3 separate regions of the Homo sapiens genome follow, and regions 2 and 3 are each linked to region 1. Evidence: promoter capture Hi-C in 16 types of primary human blood cells and fetal thymus (Javierre and others, 2016). All regions are on one chromosome and are shown on one strand. Each heading gives the region's core, a stretch centred on a gene start or on the middle of the fragment in contact. The rest is flanking DNA. Distances are from core to core; before and after follow the strand shown. Region 1 holds the start of KY (kyphoscoliosis peptidase). Region 2 has its middle 81 kb from the start of PPP2R3A. Region 3 has its middle 62 kb from the start of PPP2R3A.

Region 1 (3,634 bases), core at 613-3,112:
AGGGTGCTGTACACAGGCTTCTAGTTGATTTCAGCACTTCAGACAACCTGACACTTGAAGGAGTTAGACAACACTGACTGGCCCAGGGTAGTTGGGGGGACTCTGGGACCTGAGATCTGCCTCAGCAATCTCCAACACCCCAAGAGCTTTGCATAATGCATAGTTCTTACTTCCCCAGCCACATAGAGAGTAAGTGTTAGCCAGCCTCCCAGGTGTGCGCGCGCGCGTGTGTGTGTGTGTGTGTGTACCTGCACACATACAGACAGGACAAGACTCACTTTAGCAGAAGGAAACCTGCCTTGGAAGTCAGCCATCTCCACTTGCCTGTCTATGGCCTCAGCTCTCTAGGGACTCCAGTTCAACATTACTGGAAGCCAACAACCTCTCCTTCCATCAGATGCCCAGTGGGTGAGTCAGGGGGTGGGGTGGTGGGGGGGGGCGCTGGTAATGCAATAAGACAACAGCCTTTACACGGAACCAAACTCTGAGCCACTGTTATTGGAGGAAGACCTTCAGAATCTCAGAGTGTGGCTGTGACATCTCTCCTGCTTCTCTGCTCCATCAGTCACTTGTCACTCCATCTTTCCCTTTCCTCACCCTTAAAATGAAGTAAGAATGACAGCTACCATATGAAGACCACTTTCTATACACCAGGCGCCTTACATTCATGCCATTCTCACAACAGCCATGTGAGAAATTTTTATCAACCCAGTGATAAGGGTGAGAAGGTGGAGGGAAAATGGCTGGTCCAAGGTCACACAGCCAGGAAGTGATGGAGCTGGTACTGGAATGCAGTCTGTGTGACACAGGCTGCTCCAAGGAGGATCTGGGAACTCTCAGGACCATGCTACAAGGTGGGGTCCATACACTCCAATGCGGGGAGGGCTCCCAGAGCAAAGGCCTCCATGTGGGGGTGCATTTATTAACAGTAGAAACTCGAATTAGGGGAACGCCCCCAGCAGGGTGGGCCCGTAGTGCCCAGGGGTACCAGGCAGAAGCCTATGTAAACACTCCTGAGACCTACAGCCAAACCCCTGCTGCTGTTGGCTGGGCAGGCCAGGCCGGGCTAAAAATAGAAGGCTTCTCAGGTCCAGCTCCCTGTGCCCCAGCCTCCTCCTCTCCCCCTCCCTCCTTCCCCACAGGGCAGGAGCCAGGCTTCTAGAACGAACCGAGACTTTAAGACTTTCGTTTCAGATCAAAGAGGATCGTTAGCTTGATACTCAATGGGCATGTTCCAAGTTCTACAGGGGCCGTAACTGGGGGGAGCTCCTGACTCCAACACCCCACCCAACTCCCTCCTAGGGAGAGAGAGCTGTCAACCTCCAAAACCAACCCAGGGAAGGAGTGAGGTCGAGGCCAAAACTTGGACAATCTCTGCACATCTTGCAATTCAATCTGGAGCCCCTTTGCTGTCTTTCCTTTTCCTGAATCTACTCTCAATGTTGACAGCACTGTGCGATTTCTGTATTTGCCAGGGGCTTCTCGTGGGAGGTCGGCTCCAGCCCTCTCGAGAACCCTCCGGAGACCGTGGGGATGAGGCAGCGCTCAGCCAGAGAAGCCCTGGAGCCCAGGACCAGCGCTTCAAGTGCACCGGGCGGGAGGCAGGGGCGCAGGGAGGGAGGCTCTGGACCGGCCGCCCCTGCTGACTATGGCCCCGGTGCAGGTCAAGGCTTGGGCCCGGGGATTTCCTTTCAAAGGTGACTTAGAGCCGCTTCATTAGGGTAGCGCCCTCCCAGGCGGGCCCTAATGGCGTGTTTGGCAGAGTCAGCGAAAAGCAGCGCCCTGCGGCTCCAGCGGCGGGGGAGCGCCCTCTTCCGCGCCCTCGCCCTCTCCCGTGTGGGGCAGCTGCGCGCACGGGGCCATTTGCAGCGCAAGCAGCCTAGCGTGCGGCCGCGGCGCCCAGGTCGGAAAGGAGGCGGCATCATGGAGCTGAAGAAGGACATCAACGCTGTATCTATCGACATGCTGCTGATCGTGCACTCGGAGAAGCGGCGCGCCGCACAGGGTACGCTCTCAGACCAGCAGGCGAACCCGAGCTCGCTGCTGCAGCGCGGAGGAGGTAACGCGCGCCCGACCCGGGTCCCCGGGTCCCCCGGCACCTTGGCCTCCTTGCCACAAGGGCCTGCCCGCCGGGGGGCGCCCATTGCTCCCCCGAACGAGGTCAGCGAACCCGACCCTCTCCCCCATGGCTGCCGTCGCTTCCCCGCAGTGGCACCGGCGTCCCGTGGCAACGCGCAGTCCCGTGGCAACGCGCAGCCCCGTGATTGCCCCAGTTTCACTCCCTGTGCAGGCCTGTGGGTGCTTCCGTCACCCCTGGGAGTCTTTTTCCTCCCAGCCACTCCCTAACGGGTGTAGAGCAAGATTGGAAGATACCCTGGAGGAAGGCGGCCAGAGCCTCAGGGCTGACTCATGGGTAGCAGAGGCCTGCTCCCCCCCACAGCACACTGCAGGGCACAGGGGACGCTGGGAAACCTTTGGGCTGAGTCAGACTTTTAGATGGGGAGCTCCCTGTGTGGCCTTGCACAATTTACAGCCTCAGTTTCTCCTTTCTTGAGACTTTCTCCCAGCCTCCTATAGATGGAAGGCATGAAAGGCGTAAAAGGAACGCAGGTTTGGATAGGGTAAGATTTGAAACCTGCTGTCTCCACTTGAACTTATCCATCAATTTTACTTGTCCTACACACTTTCTGGGTAAATTTGTAAGTTGTAGATTGGTAAAATAAAGTGACTGTTTATAGAGTGATTGTGGAAAGCAGGATCCGGGCCTCTCTGTTCTCCAGACGACAGAACACAATGTGAATGGAGTACAGAGGGATGATAATGGAGGTTAAATAAGCCCCTGAAAAGCCAGAGAACCTCAGGGTCCTGGATGGCAAGCTGTCTCCGAGGCTGGTGTGAGGATGCACTAGGCGGACTGCGGGCCAGTTCTTTAGGAGTTAGGCCTGACAGCCCATGCAGGAGAATGACTTCTGCCTCTCTCCTCCCCTCCAGCTCTGGAGCTCCTTGGAATTCCTGCTGCTGCTCTGCCCTTGGTTCTTCTGTCCCCAGAGCCTCTGTGCTCATTGAACATCCACCTTCCACCTGCCTTGCTTAAGTAATGCTGCTGTGGATGGCCTTGCCACTACCAGCCACATAGGCTGGAGCTGCCTCCAGAGCCCTGGGAACCTCTTGGGAAGGCAGGCAGGGGAAAGAAACAGAATCTAGAGGGCTGAGTATGTTGACAGGCGCTCTAGTCTCAGGGCTGATTCCTGACTGAAGCAGGAGTTGTTTGGATTCGTTGGCTCTTTAGTTATCAGACCTACTCTTGGGAGAAGGGGAAATGGCCTGCCCAGGGTATTTGTAGTTAGAAAGTCAACAGAGGGCATCAACTTCTTGATAGAAATGAGACTGCTCTGAATACATGTACCACAGTCCAGAATGCCTTCTCCAGTGTGTGGCGAGGCCTAGTTCCAGGTCAGCCCACGAGTCCCCTACTCCCAATCCTCTCTGATCACATCACTTCTAAAGGCTCTGACACTAGAAAGGGCAAAGAATGCAGAGAAGCCCAGGAAACACCAGGCATCAGGACTGCCCTGAGAGGTGCCCAACACCTAGCACAAACTCGCCATGGCTCCAGACTCATGTATGCACACTA
Region 2 (3,535 bases), core at 424-2,923, 1.2 Mb before region 1:
TACTGGGTATATACCCAAAGGATTATAAATCATTCTACTATAAAGACACATGCACATGTATGTTTATTGCTGCACTATTTACAATAGCAAAGACTTGGAACCAACCCAAATGCCCATCAGTGATAGACTGGATAAAGAAAATGTGGCACATATACACCATGGAATACTATGCAGCCATAAAAAAGGATGAGTTCATATCCTTTGCAGGGACATGGATGAAGCTGGAAACCATCATTCTCAGAAAACTATCACAGGAACAGAAGATCAAACATCGCATGTTCTCACTCATAACTAGGAGTTGAACAATGAGAACACATGGACACAGGGAGGAGAACATCACACACTGGGACCTGTCAGGGGGTGGGAGTCTAGGGGAGGGATAGCATTAGGAGAAATACCTAATGTAGATGACGGGTTTATGGGTGCAGCAAACCACCATGGCACGTGTATACCTATGTAACAAACCTGCACGTTCTGCACATGTATCCCAGAACTTAAAGTGTATATATATATACTTTATATATATATGCATATATAAAGAACACCTTTTTAATCTGACCTTAGAAGTTTTGCATGCTATTCTTTCCTTGCTCAGCATCAGCTCAGATCTAACTTATTCTGTACTCATTGGGTAACATTTTGATGACTGGTTCAGGGCTCTAGTTACCTTAATAACAGAACAGTCACTGTAAATAGCTGTGAGGAGTATTTCAGTCATTATAAATAGCTATCCCCAATGGGTAGGTTAATAGGTTGGCATTCTGGCTTAAAAATATTTTCCTCCTTGCAAAAGAGATATTAGAAATTGGTTATATATAGCTACAATCATAAAATTCATAAAATAGCAGCACTGAGCTCCAGACTCCGGACTGAGAGTGGCCCCAATCCCCCAGCTTTACCATCTCTTGTTAGTTACAGGTGTCCAGTCGTGGATCTCTCATGTACTAATATCCTCAATTGAACTTTGAATTTGCATTCTTTAACTCAGCTGAGTTTTCTTCTGATCTGACCTGATCCTTCATCCCATAGATCACAAGTTAAGAATTGGAGGAAATGTTGAGACTATTTTTTGCAGAGGCCCAGGGAAGGAGGTGGCTGGTTCAAGGTCTCACAGCTGGTGGATGACAAGGCAGGGCTAGAACCCAGCTGGCTTCTAGTCCAGTTCAGTGTTTCCATTTCTCTACGCTCTATGGGTAATTTGTCCTTGAGGTTTGGATAAGATGACTTGGGAAGTTGAGCCTGTATCATATGTGTATTCATATGCATGAATACCTCATTTCATGTTTTGGATATATATTCTTGCAAATTTGGTAATAAAGTGAATTTCAGCAAATTATATATCTTACCATGTTTCTTAAAGACTAAAGATGCAATCCTTCTGTAAAAGCTTTTAGCCTTGAGTATACACTTGGATATAATAGAAAAACCAAATGCCTAGAGTGAAAAGAATTTTCTGATGAAATATTAAAATAATGTTCTGAATTAGCCAACAAATATTAAAGTGGCAGACAAAAATCTTTTTATCTAGAGGAAAATATAGCCTATTTCTTTAATACACATTTTTCTCTATCTGCAGGTAAATATTCCTTTTGAAAAGCTCAAAGTTTTACTTCTCCTCTCTGAAGGGTTTATCTTGCACGATCACTTTGAAAAGCTCAAAGTTTTATTTCTCCTCTCTGAAGGGTTTATCTTGCACAATCACTATTAATTGTTTAACAGCCTAGATTAGCTTGCTGAATGTTTGTTTAGTATCTCGTATAAATTCGTTATCATTACCAGTCAGCTTTCCTATAGTATTATTAAGGTTTATTATTTCTGTAAGTATGACTTTCTCTGTTGTGGGGTTTTTGTAAGTGGAATAAATAAACAAAGCAGCAGCTATTTTTAATAGCCATAGGATATTATATTTTATAATTTAATAAAGAGTCTAAAATGTTATGGGAGATAATATAAAGCTTGGAATTCTTTACAAAAAAGCCTAATGTCAGTTTTGTTTCCTCAGTTACTTGCCGTGATTATCTTTCCTCTGGCCACCAGGGTCATAGTAACTGCCTTAGCCTAGTCCCAAGGCCAGTACATTTTGTACTATAGATGATTTCAGGAGGAAGGAAGAGTAGACAAATGAGCTGCAGAGACAGTCCTCAAACTTCATATTAATTAATCATTTCAGCTGCTCCCTATTAAAATTTTAACTAGAACAGCTAATAGGGAGCAAAATGGATGGGTTTGAATTTCATCTCCTTTTGTTTTCCCTGCTCACTCTCTGGAAAAGGGGGTAATGAACAGTGAAATGGTCAGGCGTGAGATGCGAGGAGGGTGAGGACCTGCCTGTGGAGCCTGTGGCTGTGTAATCGGCTCCTGAATTATCACAAGGTGTCCCACCGTTTTATTGTCAGAAATGTTCAGGTTGCAATGTGGAGGGGAGTAAGGAGATGAAAAGATGGTGTCCCCATGTCCATTTTGTCCATTGGATGGGAGATATACTTCCAGAGAAGACTCTTCAGAGAAAAAATAGTAGAAGACAAATGTTGGTTTGCAATGTGTAATAAACCTGTTAGTGTTTACAGTACAGATGCTGACACTGTTTAACCTAATAGCAAGCTGTTGCCTAAGCATCTTTTGGAGGGTAATTAAAAGGCTCCTAGATGTACTGAAACCAGTTATATTAAAATTTTATTTGTAGGGAGTACTGAAAACTTCAGGTAAAAAAATCAGAATTCATGATCCAACCAAAGATGTTTTCCTGTCACGGGCATGAGGGATGCTGCCAGAAGGAGATCCCAATTAAAGACCAGGGCTTGGTTACAAAGGTGGAGACCACAAATCAACTTTCCTCTGATCCAACCTACCACTACTTTAATGAGGGAAAGAAAAAGTTCACTATTGTAATATTATTAAGTAGAAATTACAAGAAATAACTGATTATTCCTCTGGAAAGAAGATCACAGAAATGTGTGGGCCTGCTTGAAGACATTTAGTAGCAGAACGGCTAGGAAAATCGGTGCTGAGAGGGCGCTGAGAAGACACTCTTTTTTGGAGAGCTGCATTTTTCAGGCATAATGAATGGGTCATGTTTGCTCTTTGTGTGTATTTGCTGTTTGCCAAAAGCCCACCAGGTCTAGCTGGGTTTCCCAGCAGAATTCCAGAAGAGATATACAAGAGATCCACCCGCTCCTTCTGAGACTGCCACTGACAGGATGTGTGACCTCAGAGAGTCACTGTCCTGCTCTGAGCATCACTTTCTAGGATCTGTAAAGGGAAAGGAACACTTCTGATTCAAAGAAGGGTCAATACTGCTGTAATTATACCTCGTATTGAGAAAATACCTTTCCTCCTAACTCCCAAATAATTTGGAAAAAGGTGTTGGTTCTTTTTTTTTTTTTTTTTTTTGGGACGGAGTCTTGCTCTGTTGCCCAGGCTGGAGTGCAGTGGCGCGATCTCGGCTCACTGCAAGCTCCGCCTCCTGGGTTCACGCCATTCTCCTGCCTCAGCCTCCCGAGTAGCTGGGACTACAGGCGCCTGCTACCACGCCCGG
Region 3 (3,996 bases), core at 453-2,952, 1.3 Mb before region 1:
CTGTTAATATTTTCTTCTATAATGTTTATTATAAATTCAGGCTAGAATATTATAAATTTGGAAATTAGAAAAAGCTTAAAGAATAACATAAAAACTGCATGTAATTCCACCACTGCCAACATTTTATTTTTCCTTCCAGTCTTTTTTCTTTACATACACATACACATGTACATACATCTATAGATAAGTTTTAAATAAAATATGAACTATACTGTCTATGTAGTTTCAGATCCTATTTTTTGTACTTAATATTACAAGTATTTTCTTCATCATTAAATGCTATTCAAGAGCATGATTGCAATTGGCCATCTGCTATTTTACTGTACCATAGTTCATTTAGCTATGACTTCAGTGTTAGACTTTGACTTGTTTCCAGCCCCTTACCATTGGAAAATAATGCCATTTTAGACATCCTTGTATGAAAATCTTTACCTAGGCTACATTTCTAGAGACTGAATTACTAGGCCAAGGACCAGGAACATTTTTTAGGCTTTTGATACATATTGCTGCTTTGTCCTCTATTTCACAAGCCCCCCGTGGACAAGGGAGTACCCATTTCTTGCAAACTTCTATTGTGAGTTGTAGTTTTTGTCTGATGCATCAAGGCCTCCCTGCTTCATGCAATCCCATAACACCACTGCCATCTTGTGTTCTTCCTCTGTGGCTTTTCTAGGAGAGAGAGGAAGCTCTCGTCCTTAGACTATTTGAAATGCTCTCCTTGTATTCCTCTAAAGTCCTTACTGCTCCATGGCTATTTTTATGTTGCTGCTTTGAGGTGATATGGATTTCCCTCAGTTTGACCAACTGGGTAACTCCTACCTACTTATTCTCTGGAGTCAGCTTGGACCTTGTGCCCTCTGTAAAGCTGCTTCTGACACTGCAGGCTGGTTTTGAAGCCTCCTCTGTGCTCTGCACGCCCTCTTCCTTCTCCGCCAGTCAAAGCACTTACACACTGTACCGTGTGCTCAGCTGTTTCCAGATGCAAGCTTCATTGTACCTTCAGTGCCTAACACTGCATTTGGCAGACATGGATACTCAATAGATGCTAACTTTATTTAAAGAATAAAGGTTAACTTTATTTAAAGAATCCTTGAAGGTTCATCTCTATTTCCATACCCTACATTCCATCCCATTCCCCCTGAATATTTACTGGGAGTTTTTCTGATTATATAATTATCTTGTAATTATGAATCCTTGTTTGAGAATCTAGAGTTGACCCTGGGGTTCCAAAAAATGAAAGAAGGAAAGGTAAAGAAATGAGGAAAAGAGAGAGAGGAGAAATAGATCAGAATATAAATTACGATACTTTACATTTCTATATTATATTACAGTTTACAAAGTTCTGTCATACACTTCAGTTTATTTTACTGTGGTAGTTCTAAGCCCTCTCTTGGAAGGACAGACCCTCGTGCTATATGCTGTTATCGCACTGTGTATGATCTTCCTTAGCACCTCTCACAGTTGTTGGCATATAATTACAGACGCTCCTCTACTTATGATGGGACTATCCTAATAAACCATTCTAAAGTCAAAAAATCTTAAATGGAACCATCATAAGTTTGGGACCATCTGTATTACCGGTCGCTGATGTATCCCCGATGCCTAGTGCAGTGCTCAATGCACTGTAGCTATTAAGTAAGTATTTATGAATTCTGAGAAAAAACATTCTTATAGTCATCTTATAAACAAAGAAATGAAGCCTAGAGAGTTGACATTTCAATCTAAGGAGTTCTACTCCAAGTTTGATTCTCTTTTCACTACATGTCAGCTAATGTTGCGGGCTTTCTCCCCCATGGGAAAAATATGAAAGTGGGTGCTATGGTTTGGATATTTGATTCCTCCAAACCTCATGCTGACATTTGATCCCCAATGTGGGAGGTGCGGCTAATGTTTGGGTCATGGTGGGGAGCCCTCATGAGTAGATTAATGCCCTCCCTGGTGGAAAGTGAATGAGTTCTTGTTGTATATTTTCCCTAAGATAGCTGGTTGTTAAAAAGAAACTGGCACCTTCCCTCTCTCTCTCTTGCTTCCTCTCTTGCCATGTGATCTGCACAGGCCAGTTCCCCTTCACCTTCTGCCATGAGTGGAAGCAGCCTGAGGCCCTCACCAGATGCAAGAGCTGGTACCATGCTTCTTGTACAACCTGCAGAACTGTGAGCCAGATGAAACTCTTTTCTTTATAAATTATCCAGCTCAGGTATTCCTTTATAGCAATACGATTGACTAAGACAAGGGGGGAAAAATGGAAGAGGAGAATAATGGAAGGAAAAGAGGGAGGCTGGGAAAAAGGAGGAAGTCATAGAAATGAAGAGAGTGGAGAGAAGTGATTTGAAGTGGACACCTTGATGATGAAGGGAGGACAAATAGAAAGCTCTAATTTCATATACGATATGGTGTTTTGTCACTCCATCAAGCTTAGTAAACCAAGATTTCAATCAGAAGTGCTGTAGTTTTAAAATCAGTCAAACATAAGAATTCAACAGTACTTTGCCCATCATAGCTCTCCATATTCACAGGCCAATCAATGATGACATTGCCATAGCTTTGAGAACATACTTAGTGGCAGCGGGAGAAAAGGTGATCCTGGCCATAGATTCTCTGGAGAACCTCCCCAGGATGTTCAGCCCCACTGATGAACTGATGAGGGAAAGGTGAGGGAAGAGAATGCCATGTGACCTCAGAAACCCAGCTGAAGTTGGGGTATAGGGTGAAGAACCCTGCAGGGTTGGCTGTCAATGGTTCCTGAAGAGTCCACCCACTCTCCCAAAAGCTTTGGCCAAGAACAGGACACCCTAAGGTATGGCTTTGTGAGTGCCCTTCGGGGGTCTAGGAATTCTTGGAAGATCTTAGGCACTGGAAATGGCACCATGTCCATTGCTTACTAGACAAAACTGCAGACACAGTCTCCCATGTCTGGAGACATCCCCACTGATGAACATCCCTGGGGGTGTTCTCCAGAGAATCCATGGCCAGGATAAGCCTGGCTTCTCTTGGTTTCATACAACAGAATATAGAGGGTTTAGGTGTAACTTTTCTGTAGACAGGGAGATGTACCTTCTGGTATGGTACAGATGAAGACCAATGAATACTGTGACAGATGTTACCACTTTTCCTTTGTAGCAGTGTCCATGGTAACAATTTTAAACTCTCGGGAGTCAGTATAGCATAGAGGTTACAAGCACAGGCTGTGGAGCCAGACTGCTTAGGCTAGAATCTTGGTTCAGTCACTTCCTTGTGTGATCTTGGGTAAGTTACTTAACCTTTGTGTGATCTAGTTCTCTTGTGTGTTAAGTGGGAATAATAAAAGTACCTAACCCATTGGAATATTGTGAAAAAATAATGAGATAATGCATGTAAAGTTTATAGAACAGAGTCTGGCCCATGGAAAGCACCAGTAAGTGTTGGCTACTTTTGTTAAGATTTCCTTCAAGCTCCAGACATGGGAGACTGCGTCTGCAGTTTTGTCTAGTAAGCAGTGGACATGGTGCCATTTCCAGTGCCTAAGATCTTCCAAGAATTCCTAGGCCCCTGAAGGGCACACACAAGGCCATACCTCAGGGTGTCCTGTTCTTGGCCAAAGCTTTTGGGAGAGTGCGCGGACTCTTCAGGAACCACTGACAGCCAACCTTGCAGGGTTCTTCACCCTATACCCCAACTTCAGCTGGGTTTCTGAGGTCACATGGCATTCTCTTCCCTCAACTTTCCCTTGATATTCACTTTAGGATGGCACTAGACACAAGGCTGAATTTGGGTATCCAGAGAACTACCACAGACACTACAGAAGTTAAGTTCTGGAAAATTCAGCAGTTGGAGTTCAGTCGCTGCTGAACACACACTAATTGGGAATGGTCTAGGCCAGAGCCAGTGAGTGGTTTGTTTGGCCAGCATGGTGTCCACTTGATGGTATCTGTCTATCATCTATTTATCTATCTATCTTTGATAATTAATTTGTCTTTAATCAGGGTATGTGCTCCCTAATCTATTGACACATTTATG

What was found. The method cuts DNA at HindIII sites, captures the fragments that hold promoters and counts their contacts. A CHiCAGO score of 5 or more calls a contact.
Region 2: a contact is called between a fragment that was not itself captured here and the fragment with the promoter of KY in region 1, in 2 of 17 cell types (endothelial precursors and M0 macrophages). The highest score is 8.4, in endothelial precursors.
Region 3: a contact is called between a fragment that was not itself captured here and the fragment with the promoter of KY in region 1, in 2 of 17 cell types (endothelial precursors and M1 macrophages). The highest score is 11.3, in endothelial precursors.

Annotation. Positions count from the first base shown.
Region 1 is chr3:134,649,250-134,652,883 of GRCh38, reverse strand. It overlaps KY (kyphoscoliosis peptidase), which reads left to right and starts at 1,862. Exons shown (of 11, transcript NM_178554.6): 1 at 1,862-2,059. The coding sequence starts at 1,924. It also overlaps a transcript of CEP63 not described here. The HindIII fragment of the contact is 8,919 bases long and covers 1-3,634 here.
Region 2 is chr3:135,883,227-135,886,761 of GRCh38, reverse strand. No RefSeq gene overlaps it. Among named protein-coding and RNA genes, the nearest start is that of PPP2R3A, 81 kb to the left of the region's middle. The HindIII fragment of the contact is 568 bases long and covers 1,390-1,957 here.
Region 3 is chr3:135,902,174-135,906,169 of GRCh38, reverse strand. No RefSeq gene overlaps it. Among named protein-coding and RNA genes, the nearest start is that of PPP2R3A, 62 kb to the left of the region's middle. The HindIII fragment of the contact is 1,428 bases long and covers 989-2,416 here.